Regions from separate parts of the Homo sapiens genome. Here region 1 is linked to region 2. Evidence: promoter capture Hi-C in 16 types of primary human blood cells and fetal thymus (Javierre and others, 2016). All regions are on one chromosome and are shown on one strand. Each heading gives the region's core, a stretch centred on a gene start or on the middle of the fragment in contact. The rest is flanking DNA. Distances are from core to core; before and after follow the strand shown. Region 1 overlaps ART4 (ADP-ribosyltransferase 4 (inactive) (Dombrock blood group)). Region 2 holds the start of ERP27 (endoplasmic reticulum protein 27).

What was found. The method cuts DNA at HindIII sites, captures the fragments that hold promoters and counts their contacts. A CHiCAGO score of 5 or more calls a contact.
Region 1: a contact is called between a fragment that was not itself captured here and the fragment with the promoter of ERP27 in region 2, in 1 of 17 cell types (total CD8 T cells). The highest score is 5.9, in total CD8 T cells.

Annotation. Positions count from the first base shown.
Region 1 is chr12:14,823,215-14,830,072 of GRCh38, forward strand. ART4 (ADP-ribosyltransferase 4 (inactive) (Dombrock blood group)) reads right to left here. Exons shown (of 3, transcript NM_021071.4): 3 at 2,355-6,248. The coding sequence ends at 6,157. It overlaps C12orf60 (chromosome 12 open reading frame 60), which reads left to right. Exons shown (of 2, transcript NM_175874.4): 2 at 1-1,201. The coding sequence ends at 459. Among named protein-coding and RNA genes, the nearest start is that of SMCO3, 12 kb to the left of the region's middle. The HindIII fragment of the contact is 502 bases long and covers 3,578-4,079 here.
Region 2 is chr12:14,932,771-14,939,969 of GRCh38, forward strand. It overlaps ERP27 (endoplasmic reticulum protein 27), which reads right to left and starts at 5,767. Exons shown (of 7, transcript NM_152321.4): 1 at 5,645-5,767; 2 at 5,182-5,282; 3 at 2,086-2,223. The coding sequence starts at 5,738. RefSeq lists an enhancer at 5,223-5,282. The HindIII fragment of the contact is 1,334 bases long and covers 5,539-6,872 here.

The sequences.
Region 1 (6,858 bases), core at 2,579-5,078, 110 kb before region 2:
ATGTGCTCTGTGGTTCAGAAGAGTACCAATGTAGAGGAGTTGCATCAGTCAGCTAAAGAAGTATTCAAAAGTGCCCATACGCCAGTCATCATCTCTGTGCTAAACAGCAGTAACATCCTTGGGAGTCTGGAATCTTCTCTTTCACACTTGATGAAATTCCCCATCATGAATCTTCAATTAAGTGACTTCTATACAGAAGACACCAAAGAGCAATCAGATGTCACCACATCTGAGAGAACCAGAAGTCCTCCAGGTTCTTCCAAAACCACTATGATAGACACCTTGAAAAAACTGCAGGATGTACTAAAAACTGAGGATTCCAAAAATCCCACAAAGTCAGCAGCAGATTTGTTGGAACAAATTGTCAAGGCTATGGGACCAATCTTAGAGATCCTCCAAAAAGCGATAAAGACTATGGAAATGAATATTTCTGTGTTTAAGAAAGCCAGTGACAAGTAGGGATGCAACAGAAATGTTCATTTCTGTCAGAAAACTACTTAAAATCTTATGGTTTTTCATAGTAGTTTCTAAGATCTTTTGGTGCCAAACATGTGCTATGTTAGAACATAAGTACACAAAAGTCATCTGGCAAAACATTTACCTGTAGTTTTGCTTTATTAAAATAAAAAGAAATAATTAAGAAAGCCTGTTTGAAATGTCAGTCACTAAGAAGAATATATTGTTGAAAAAAACAAAGTGGTATTACATTTGAGGATGTTTCTAAATATTGTGTTTCATCTTAAAGCATAATTAAAACAACCCTAAAGTAGTTCCCACTCTTAACTATTCTATTTCCAGTGAGAAATCCAGGTAAACTGTAAATATTATCATTAGATAGAAAATCTAGGCCTGGGAAACAAAATAAACTCCATTTTTGTCACTCATATACCAATTTCTATATACTTCAGTACCTTGACGATCAGAAGCCATCACTAAATATTTTAAATATGATTCATAAGTAAGTGAGAACAGTGAATGAGCAATAATAGACTTTTCTTGCTTATGTGAGTAAGACCAGAACAGATAGTTCATTCTCACTTGTCTCCTGAGGTCTTATGATTAGAAAATACTAGAGGTGGAAAAATGGAAGTACTCTAGCCTTTCACAAAGAAAAGACTTTCACAAGGAAAACACTTGCAGAAGTAGGATATCTGAGATGTGCTTTATTTAAAGAAATGAGATAGGGCAGTCTCTTTGTCTACCATAAGTCTTTGGTTCTCATGCATTGTAAATGAGTATGTACTCCTAAGATTGGTGTTGAAGTTAACTATTTCACATGATACCTGATAGAACTCTGTTGAGAATAGGAAAAGCAATAATAACTCCAAGCCAAAGCCATCATTGTAATTCCCATTGTCATTTAAAATAAGGAGTCCCTTCTCCATCCTCATATAATTTCAAAATGTTTGGTAGGGAGGGTCAAGTGGATTTTGACCATTACCAGAGCTTGGAGGTTCTGGAAAAAACGATGAGTTTCAATACATTAACTCTCATTTTCTCTCCACAGCAAAGCTGAAACCTTGCTTATTTGTAATAGGTTTCTATTAAGAACTCTATTATTTTGAAGAGGATGTTAAATTGATTCATTTGCTACCATACACATACACACACACACACACACACACACACAGAGGGTGAGAGAGAGGAGAAGGGAGACAGGACTCTCACTTTGCTACTTTTTCTGGACCTATATGTGTCTAGGGTTTCAATCTCCTTTTAGTTTTAGGATTATGTTTCAGAATGTTGGATGCAACAGCTAGGGGGATTCATATGGAAATGAATGAGACAAGGACCAAGAAAAGTCTTGGTGCATAGTCTTTCTGTGAGGTGACTGGAAGAATAGCTGGTGGCAGTTCACAGGAAGTCCTTGCCAGATGCCAATGGGAATGACAACCAGGGTGTTAGAGATGGGAAGTGCCCACTTCAATAAAGATGAGTGGTCTTCCAGTGCTGGTGGCTGTTGTTAGGCTGGTGATCACTTACAGTGTTTCACATTTTCCCACCACTGGGTACCACCAGTCTGACCACTCTAATGACATCATGTCTGCTGCTGCCTCCTGGCTTCTGGAAATACTGAGGAAAAGCTGTATTTTTTTCTCAAACCTATTACTCACATTTAATGTTTCTCTCAAATACTTTGGTTTTGGGTTCCTCTCATTTTCTCTAATATCCTTCAGTTTTTGAAGAACAAAGTGGGGTGTGTTTCTATACTATGCCTGGTCTCATTCCTCCTCTAGGCTGTGAGCATGGGATGGCCTAGCTGTTTGAATGAATCATCAGTAGGGAGGAAAAAGTGAACTGCCACACAACACAACACATGATCATTTACTATTAAAAAAAATGAAATACTATTATACTTGTAATTTTTTTTATTAGTTGCCAGTGTTTGCTGCATCTTGGTATTTCTGAAAGCACCTAATAAATGCTTGTTGAATTTTACCAAATCAAGAGCTAGTTCATTCAGTGTAAATCAATTTGATTCATATTATTAGACAACTCAGTACAAGAATCCTGATTCTTCTAGCAAAACAAACTTTACTGAAATTTTCTTTCATTGGATTTTTTTTAAAGTAAGAGTAAATAGAGAACTTCAGGATAATCTAATAGGCGTATTAAAGAGAACACCTTGTTATAAAAATAAAGTATTACATGGGTTGAGTGTTTTTACTTTTTAAATTTTTCCTGTTTCAATCAGCTTCTTCAGATTAAACAGTATATTTCTGTACACATCAAAAGGAGACATACATGTATTTGTTTAATAAAATTACTATAGGACATAAGTACTCCTTACAGCACAGTCTCTGTTAACAGTTGCATGAATTTACACATATTTGAGCATCCGCCTTATCTTTGGAAGATATCCCAGGCTAACAAATTTATCCCAGCAGAAATTACAGTGAAATTTCTAAAACTAGTCTCTTAGAGTTTCATAAACATGTAACTTAATCAATTTAAATCAATACTCTACAGATTCCTTGCTCAACAACTTTGGACTATAGGGAGAGACTGAGGGGATGTGAGCTATGTACATTTATCCTTAACCAAACTCATGAATCTACATAATTTTAAGAGAATAGTTTCTGTCTCCAGAGATTTGATCTGTAAAACAGCAGCAGGAGTTAGAACTAAGTTATCTTTTTTAGAAACTTGGCTATTCCCTTAAGGATCATAATTGTGTAAGTCACAGTGTTCTCAAATGTTGGTGTATAGCAGAATCATCTAGAGGACTTATTAAAACAGACTGTTCAATTTCTGTAGTCTGTAGTCTGGGATCAGGCCCTAAAATTCACATTTCTAATGAGTTCTTAAAGGATGCTATTGCTGCTTGTGCCTAGAGAGTCAACGCTTTAGGAGAATTGTCTTACTCAGAAAATTATGACTTCTCATGGAAATCAAATGCTTTTGGCTGACTTTTTAGCTTCACTGAGTGGCTTCCAATTTCCTCTCCAGCCCACATTACCCCTCACTCTCTGCCAGACCTATCTGCTCCCTGACCTTATGCTGTACATACATCGATCATTCCGTATTCGCTTCTATTTTCTGCTTTCCTCTAAGTAAAACATCATCTCTGATAGAAAGCTTTATCTAACCATAGGCCAGAGGAATCACATTTTTCTCTCAGCTCCAAGCATTTAATATTTGGCCTTGTTTTGGGCACTACGCACTTGGCACATACTCTTTCTTGTTTTTTTCTCCTTCTGCTCACCCCTTCTCCCAGCCTAGAGCCCTAACGGCTGGTTCAAATGCAGCCTCTTACTTAAAGCCTTCCGGGTGTCTCTTCTTGCCTCAGTTGGAAGAAATCTTTCTTTTGAATTGTTATGAACAGAAAACTTGATTTTTGCCTTTTTTTTTTTTGGCATTTCACTTGTGGCTTGCTTTATGTTCTTAATTTCTCCTAAGAGATTGTAAACTCATGAGAGATCTGGCCTAGTGTTCTTAACTTTTAATCCCCAAAGTGCTTTGTACACAGTATGGCTCAATACATGCATTTATATGGCACAGGAAAAATGTACTTAAGATGTTGGGTGGCTTTTACCAACATAGCATGTCATTACTGACTCATCGATGCTCACTGGAAAAGCTTGCTCCCAGAGCCATGTCCCCAGGACTCTCTACTAGGTAGCCACCAAACTGCCAAAGACCCTATCCTATGCAAGTCACATAAATTGTCTGTTTGTAGAAATTCTTTCTTTTTTTCTTTTTTTGAGATCGAGTCTCACTCTGTTGCCCAGGCTGGAGTGCAGTGGTGTGAACTTGGCTCACTGCACTACCTCCGCCTCCTGGGTTTAGGCAATTTTCCTGCCTCAGCCTCCCAAGTAGCTGGGATTACAGGTGCGTGCCACCATGCCTGGCTAATTTTTGTATTTGTAGTAGAGACGGGGTTTCACCATGCTGGCCAGGCTGGTCTTGAACTCCTGACCTCGTGATCCGTCCTCCTCGGCCTCCCAAAGTGCTGGGATTACAGGGGTGAGCCACCATGCCTGGCAGAAATTCTTTCCTTTATTGACTGTAGAGGCTACTGCAACTAGGTGACAGAGGTGATTTGGCCCTGTTAGTTTCAAATCCCAATTTAAAGAATGATAGTACAGAGATGCCTGAACTCCCTGCCAGGTAATTTTATGTAGCTTATTCCCCATTCCATTTCTTTGATCATGACACAGGCCATTCAGGAAGTCCTATGGAGAGTAAATAGATGGACCGATTTTCAGTTTTGCTGTTTCTTATCCAAATCTTAAAAGGGATAAGGAGCATGGACTTTCAAAATCCAAAATTATAGAGCTAGCCCTCATCTTTACTCCATTTAGCCTGATACCAGGGTCTTCAGTGATCGTGATCGGGTTAAATAATCCCTTATGTCGCTACCTAAATTACTACCTGAGGGAAGCGTTAGAGGACATTTCCAGCTATACAATTCAACAATTTATACTTCTTTGCATGTACTAGTTTACATGTAATGAGACCTCGCTATATTGCTGATATTTGTTTGTAATCAGTGTTTTTTTCTCTCATACTCTCTGTTAACCTTCACACATACCCTCATGTTTTCCTAATATTTAAATTTGCTATGAAGACTTAAATTTGCCATCAAGTTCTCTATGAATTAACATATGAGTTTAAATTTTAACTTTTGTAATGTCTTAGGAACATGCATGAACACCCATTACTGCTGGTGAATGAAATTTCACTAACATCTTTCATTAACTTTCCCTTTTATTTCTCAAGTTTCCATGTGTCTTCTCATCTGAGGCCATACTAGCTTAATCTTGAATGCTCATAAAAAATCTCTGAAGAAAATTCACACCTTGGTTAATCTCTGGGGTTCAAAGCTTTTCTGTTTGGTGAAGAATTTGTCCTTTGCTTTCTAATTTAATCTTCTTTGATTTGTTCCTATTTAGAATAACTAAATTAAAAAAAATAAGGAAGAGTGCTTGTATTCGTTGGAACTTCAACTGCTTGATGCTTGACATAGAAAATCTAATTCAAATTATGCAAGCAAAAACATAAATTATTGATTTATGTAATGAAAAATCTTGTAGTATTCAGCTTTAGGCAAAGTTGGATCCAGAGGCTTATACATTCTCATCAGGTCTCAGTTTCTTTTCACTTATCAGCTCTTCCTTTGTTGTGTTAGATCCTTTCTCAAGGAGATGGGGTCTCCTCTCCTGGTGGCGGGATCTTTGCTGGCAGCTATAAGCTCCTACCCTGCTTTCATTAATATCCATTCAGAAAAGAAGCTCCCATTCTATTTCCAATTGCAATTCCACAAAAGTACCCTGATTGTATCTCACAGGCTCTGATTGGATCATTTTCTATTCCAGCATGAATCTTTGTGTCCATGAAGAAGAAATATACTGATTGGCTAAGGCCTGAGTTACAGGCCAATCACAGTCAGTGGGCTGAGCCAGCTCTGCATCAGTTGCTAGCTGGGCAGAGTGATTTCCCCAAGAGTACTTAGGGTGCCCAGATTGAAATAAGGCAAAGGGGTACAAGGAAAGGCATAAGAGAATTAGCAAAGAGGAGGCCATGCACTGGTTTCAGCAGAAGTATGATGGGATCATCCTTCCTGGAAAATAAATGTCCATTTCTAGCCAAAAGGCCAATAAAAAAGATTTTATTTAAATATTTTTTTTAAATAAAAGGAGCCACAAGATTTCTTTATACTCTGCTTTTGGAAAAGATGATGACACTGGTCAAAAAGGAGAGAGATGCAATAGCTATAGGATCAGGGATGCATTTCTTGCTGGAAGCTGTAAAAAACAAAACAAAGGAAATATTTTAGGTAGCAGAGTTTTTTTTAAAACTACCTCATCTATCCATTGATCCACTTACTTAACTTAGAAAATTCCTAATAAAAACATTTGAAGTTAGCTACTTAAAACACATTATTTTAGATTTTTCTAACATAACTTGCTTATTTTGCAGATGATGAAACAGACACCAAGAGGTTAAAAGATGTACTCCCAGGTAACCCAGCCAGCTGGTGGTAGAGATCTAATTTTCCATCTTTATCATCACCAGCAGCATAATCACTGTTAGCATTATCCCCATCTTAATTATCATCATCTTCATCACCATTATGAAAGTTAACACAGACTGAATGCTGATTTTGTGCTAGGATCTATTTCGAGCCCTTGCTATATATTAACTTAAGCCTCACAACAAACCTATGAGATTTTTATTCTCAATATCCTTGGTTTTTACTTGATGAGATTGTGACACAGAGATGAGAAAAAACTTGCCAGTGTCACACATCTTGTAAATAGTATAGGCACCATTCAAACTTGGCCAGTTTGTCTCAATTCTGCATTCTTAACCACTAACCTGTTTGTCTGTGTATTACATGTCCATCCATAGAAT
Region 2 (7,199 bases), core at 4,517-7,016:
AATGAGGTAGAAGGAGTGGAGGAGAATATAGATTCAAGATAGAAGATACAACTGGCAAAAATGTAAGACCAAATGAGCATAGCCACTTAATAAAATAGTATCTTAGATGGAGGAATATGATTAGCAGGTGCAGACAATAAATTCAGTTTTGAACATTTTAAGAGTATAGTGCTTATGAGGGTATATACCCAGCAAACATTTGAATCATGAGAGAAGTCCAGACTAGGGATAAAATATTCTAAATGTTCCGCAAGCACATAATAGTGGAATATGCAAAAGAATTGTACTTCTTAAGAAGAACATATTCATTCATTCATTCATTCATTCATTGATTCTTCATATATTCATTCTAAACAAATACTTAGTGAGCACCTACTGCACAGCAGGCACTGTTCTAGGCTCTGTGGATACACTGAACAGAACAGTCTTTGCCTTCACATAGCATGGGTTCCATGACCCAGACTGTAAAAAGTGTTGGGTCAGGCAGCATTGTAGATACAGGAAGAGAAGGTCTCAAAGAGATTATAAAAGCAGCAGGAGGATCAGGAGAAGTAGTTTCCTAGAATTCAAGGAAAGAGAGAACATTAAAAAGAAAGAAGTCATCACTAACATCATACATGACAGAAATGTTGAGTAAAATAAGACCTAAAAAGGGTTCATTGAGTTTGGCAATATGGAAGCCATGCAGACCTGGATAAATGTAGTTTTAATGGTGTGATGGGGGCATAAACTAGATAGTAGTGTCTAGTTTAGAGAAAGACAGTACAAAATACACTTAAAGAAGTTTCAATGAGAAAAGAAAGGGAAAGAAAGGATGGAAACTAGAAGGGGCACGACATTCAGTCCCGAAATACTGAAAACTTTTTCTTTTCCATCAATTTACTCTTTTTCAGTGGACTCTTGATATTCCACCAACAAGTAGAACTCAATGACCAATGAAAGCATCAGAAACCCCTATTTCTGCACATGACCTCACTATTCTTAGACACCCTGGCTTTAAGCTTTGCCTGCTTTCCATAACTGTGATATCTAATGATCACAGGATCTTCCTCTTCTTTAATTTCTGTTGCTACCTCTCTACTACAGACTCTTAATACTTCTCACATGGTCTATTTTGTCAGCCTAACAAAAGCTCCCTCTTCTCTTGCCTTTTAACCTAAAAATCCATCCTCCACCTTGCTGTCAAAATAATCTAATAAAACACATTTCTGTTCATGTTACTCCCCTGATGTAAAGGCTTTAGGGGCTTTCCAGTAACAGCCAAATTCAGGACAAACTCATTAAAGTGGTATTCTACTTTTTCCCCACAATACGATTTTAATCAAGTTTCTTTCTCTTATATTCATTTTCCCCAATGTGTACCCTGGGATCCAGTGAGATTGGCCTGTTTATTGTTTCCTGAGTTTTTTCCCGTTGGCCATGAATTCTTTAGCTTGTCTAAACTTATCTATCCTTCAAGTTTCAATTCTGTTGTCTTTTTCTTTTCTTTTTTTTCAGAATTCCCACACTGTTTCTATCCTTTGAACTGTGATAAAACTTTACCCATAGTGATTCTCTTTTTATTATAGATACTTGCATATTATATATACAATACCTACCATACTTAAAGATCTATGAGACTGGAGAATATATTTAATATGTTTTTATTATCGGTATCTTGCATAGGGCATACAGGAAGTATTTAATAAATGTTTGAAGAACATAAATGAACTCCTCAAAATATTTAATATAAAAATTTTGGAGCTCAAAGTGACCTTAGAGATAATACAGTCTAACTCTTTTATTTTATAAAGGAAAGAATTGGAGATAAAAAATGTTAAGTGACTGCCCAAAGTCATGTGGCTGTTGAGCGACAAAGCAGTACCACAAATTCCATTCCCTGGCTTTCAGTCCTGTCCTCTTTCCATTTCATTACAGTACCTGTTTGGGAAGCTTGAATTGAGTCATCATCCTTGTCAACAATGTCCCTGAATTTGGTACCATCATTAGTGTAAAAGACATAGAGTCCTTTCCAGTCTCACAAGTTTATGAGTCCACAACCCAGTGAAAATCTGGGAGAAAGCTCAAGCTACCCACCCAACTTACCAGGCGAAAGAGGCAGATGGTGTTCCCAGTGATGTTGTAGTGTGTCAGAACCTCAGAATCAGTGCTGATCCCAAATGACACGCCTGGGAATTTTTGCACCATGCTATGGAGTATGGGCACTGCTGGTATTTCTAAATCCTAAAAACAAGAGAAAAAATAATACCACAGTGGTTATTTCGAAGGGCAGAGACAAACGATAGGCAAAAGAAATATGATATGATGTTTACCAGAAATCATAGATTTGATTTACTGCCCAGTAACACATGATTTACCCCTAACAATTCAGGTTTAACTGGCAGTGACATTCTTGAATTTTCCAGGCTCTGTAAGTTAATAGGTAACCACGAAATTGTAGCTGAGCCTGAGACTCCTGTCAGGCCTTGTCATAGAGCTTGAAGTTTACTAGGGGCTGAGAGAGGCCTCAAAATCATAAAGGCCTGCCTAGTTTGGCTGCACTGTTGTAGATACACATGAGAAGCAACTCTTCTGGGAACAATTTGTTTAACGGTGAAATAGCAAACAAACTAACATAACCAACTCTATTTTTGTTTAAAGGGCATTTATTTACTCATTCCTGCATGTAGGTTAGAATAATTTTAGAGCACTGAGATAATAGGCAAAAATAGGAGTTATATAGTTTTTAAAACTAACTCTGGGATTAAAGGAAAAGTATGTAAACAACTAACTATGTAGTGCTACAGATTTATAGGTGCCTTGTGACCTGACCAAGGACAAAGAAGTTCCCAACTTCCTGAGACACTTGCTGGGGCCCAGATGCCTGTGGTTGCCGGTTATCACTTGATCCCAACTCCCTCCTCTTCACCCTGCCCTTAACATACAAAGAACCTAAAATTGGTAGTGGCTTAAGATGTACTTTGTTTATTTATTTTGACACAGAGTCTTGCTCTGTCACCCAGGCTAGAGTGCAGTGGCAAAATTTTGGGTCACTGCAACCTCTGCCTCACGGATACTTGTGCCACAGCCTCCTGAGTAGCTGGGACTACAGGTGTTCACCACCATACTTGGCTAATTTTTTCTGTATTTTTAGTAGAGATGTGGTTTTGCCATGTTGCCCAGGCCAGCCTTGAACTCCTGAGCTCAGGCAATCCACCTCCCTCAGGCTCCCAAAGTGCTAGAATTACAGGTGTGAGTCACTGTGCCCGGCCAAGATGTACTTTAGGATGCTAGTCCGCTGTCTTCTTGGTTTACTGGATCTTCAAATAAACTGGCTTTTCCTCCCACCGGCTCTTCCTCTTGAGTTTTGGCTTTGGTTACATTTGTGGATGAAAGGAAAAAATGCAAAAATATGAAATAGACGCCATCAAAAGGGCCAAAAAAGAAAAAAAGAAGAAAAATAAAACAATTAAAATGAAAGCTTAGAAGTTTTAACAAAAGTTTATGCAGGTTATGGAAGGACAGTCCCTCTCTTGCCACTGTAGATAAACCTGAGCTTTGCACATGAAGATGCTGTTCACGCATTCAACTCTGCAGCCCAGGCCTGCAGGAGGCAGCAGAGAAGCCACTTGCGAACAGTGATTCCAGGCCTTCCATAGACGCTGGCATCATTTTCCCTGCTCTCACGGGACCTTTATCCATAGCAGCTCCAGGAAATTAACAGGAACAAACATGTTCTACCCTGCAAGTCCCCAGGCTGAAGGAGGAGATGTGCAAGGAGAAAAGAAGATGGCCAGTTGATATGGTTTGGCTGTGTCCTTACCTAAAATCTCATCTTTAAATGTAATCCCCATAATCCCCACATGTCAAGGGTGGGACCAGGTGGCAGTAATGGGATCATGGGGGCAGTTTCCCCCATGCTGTTCTCGTGATAGTGCATGAGTCACAAGATCTGATGGTTTTTTAAGCGTCTGGCATTCCCCTGCTTGTGCTCATTCTCTCTCCTGCCATCCTGTGAAGAGGTTCCTTCTGCCATGATTGTAAATTTCCTCAGGCCTTCCAAGCTATGCTGAACTGTGATTCAATTAAAACTCTTTCCTTTATAAATTATCCAGTTTTGGGTATGTCTTTATTGGCAGCATGAGAAGAAACTAACATACCCGTCTTGCATCTGGGGTCAAGCAGAGGGAGCTGGTATCTACTCTTCTAGAGGCCATGAACAATAATTAATTGAGGCCTCCTCTCTTATTCTGCTCCTTCAGATGGAATTGCTGGAGGATAAAATGATGGCATCTGGCGGCTGTTTAAGTTATTGCACACTCCTCCAATTCCATGCTCTTGCCCCTTCCCCATCTTTCTGACGGTGTTTTTGTCTACAGCTCAGATTTCTCATTCCTGAAAAATGTTGTCCCTGTCTTTCTCCCTGACTTGCATCTCATTGCAGTGATTTCCAACTGTGTACGCAGAACTGACAGGGTAATCAGGAGTTGTAACTGAGAAATGGAAACAGACAAGAAGGTCTGCTATGAGAGAGTAGGGGCTTGATCAGCTGTGAGGATTTCCAGATGCTACCACCAGAGAAAGATGAAAATGCTGGAATGAGGCAGTCTCATTTATGGCTGCCTTTCTTAGTCAAGAAGCTAATCTGGAAGATGGAGGTTAACACCTTGAATATACAAAATGCCATCATTTTCCAACATTTCAGACAAGGCAAAGAGAAAGAAGGAGAGTCTACCATATTTGGGGGAAAGGCTTTAAAAGGCTGTGCACTGACTAATGTCCAGGATGTTTGGCATCCTGTAAACAGTGTTGCTGGATGATATAAATTGGGTTCACTCTGGCCCCTGCCTATTCATAGGGTGCTATGAGAGTATAGACCAAATGTGTTTAGGACAATGGTGGGGTTCCATGAAGGCATTCTTTCTGCAGATACTGACTTGAGCTTCAAAGCATCCATAGATGAGGAGATGCAGCCCACAGGCTCAGAACTCTTGAAGTAAGTATGAGAAAGATATAATTTAGAGACTGGGAATGTCTTGAAAATAAGAGGTCCCAATGGACAAGATGAAATCAAACTGGGTGGCTGTCTCCCTTTACCCCCACTTCTAATGCAGTGCCATCTGCCAGCAGCAGGTGGCTGCTGTGGTTCCCTTAAGGTAGAACATTTCTGGCTCTTGGGGGAATTGCAAGTAGGGAACTAACCTGGAAGAAGCCTATGACAGCCACCTCAGTGGCAGCAATGAATTCCATGGCAGCTGGGACATCTGTGAGCCACGTGGGTTCCTGGGCAGCACCAGGACCATCTAGAGAGAGAAGCAGAAGATGTCAGGGTACTGAGGCAAGAAGAAGCAGCTCTAAATAATGAGGGCATCTATACCTTTTATCTCTATACTAAGGGCAAGAAGAGCACAATTTATAGGAGTACTGTTGGCATTCCAAGGCATAATATTTTTACTAACATATGGAAGGTGACCCTACTGATGGTCTGTCTCTGAAGGATACTGCCAGACTTCCCTACTCTCTACCAGGCAAAATGCACTTATCCAGGATTTCCTGGAAAGCTTTCTAGGTGTGGAGGAAAAGTACCCAGAGAACCACCATGCTCCCTTTCCTTCTCCTAATAACACTTTCACACTATAGCCACCCAACTACATTTTTCTTTTACCTGAGGATTTCTCAACTTCTGCAGCAACTTCTGCAGCCAGCTCACACGTGAGGAGAAATAAGAGGAACATGAACCTGGACGGGGCAGCTTCCATTGTCCCTCTCCTGCTCCTGCTCCAACCCTGGACTTTGTGTTGGGGAGGCCGACTCAGGGCAGCCTACTCTGTAGCTGATTGGCTGTGGGGTTGTTAGGGCTTTGGGAACTTTGCAGCTGGCTCCAGGGGAGCCTTCAACTTCTGAGATAAAAGACCAAGGTTAGTAATAGGGACTCAGAACATATCCAACCAGAAGAAAGTCAGGTCAGTTTATTTAAATAAAAAATGTAAATATGCTATGCCAGGCATTGATCCTAGCGCTAAGAATAGAAAGATAATTATGATCTGATCCAGCCTCTGCCAGCTTAGATTATCAGTGGGAGAGATGGGCAAGTAAAAAGATTATTTAAATATAAGATGGAAAGTGATATAGAAAAATTCATAGGGTGCTATGACAATACATATTAAGGGTATTAGGGACAATGCTAGGGTTCAATGAAAGTGTTCTTCCTGCGGAGGATGCCGGAGCAGAGTTCTGGGTAAGTAAGATTTTGCCAGGCAACACAAGGTAGAAAGGGAGTTTCATGTAAAGAACTAAAGCACAGGCCGGGCGTGGTGGCTCATACCTGTAATCCCAGAACTTTGGGAGGCTGAGGCAGGTGGATCACGAGGTCAGGAGATTGAGACCATCCTGGCTAACATGGTGAAACCCCATCTCTACTAAAAATACAAAAAATTAGCCAGGTGTGGTGGCGGGCGCCTGTAGTCCCAGCTACTCGGGAGGCTGAGGCAGGAGGATGGCCTGAACCCGGGAGGCAGAGCTTGCAGTGAGCCGAAATAGCACCACTGCACTCCAGCCTGGGCGACAGAGCGAGACTCCGTCTCAAAAAAAAAAAAAAAAAAAAAAAAGAACCAAAGCACAGATATGCAAATATAATGTGTGACAGAATTACTAGTAATTGAGAATGATGAAAAGGAAGGAAGTGATACATGTGGACAGAAAGGCATGTTGGGACCAGCTCACAGCAGGCTTTATATGATACACTAAGCGCGGGAGCATCAATTTTATTCTGTAGGTGATGGGAACCACTGAAAAGTCTTAAGCAGAAGAATGAGATGAAGTTTGATTTTGCTCACAAGTGTCTGAGGAAGTCCAAGATGAGATTTCCACAGGCATTGGGATATGTAGTTTTAAGCTTAGGAGAATTTTCATGTGAAAATATTACAAAAGAAATTAGGAAGCCCTAGCCAGGGCAATTAGGCAAGAGGAAGACATAAAAGGCATCTAAACAGGAAAAGAAAAAGTCAAACTATTTCTCCTTGTTGACAATATGATTGTATGCCTAGAAAGCTCTGAAGACTCTGCCAAAAGGCTACTGGAACTGATGAATGATTTCAGTAAGGTATCAGGAAAAAAATAAGTGTACAAAAATTAGTGGCATTTCTATACAGCAATAATGTCCAGGCTGAGAGTAAAATCAAGAACACAATTTCATTTACAATAGCTACAAATAAAATGAA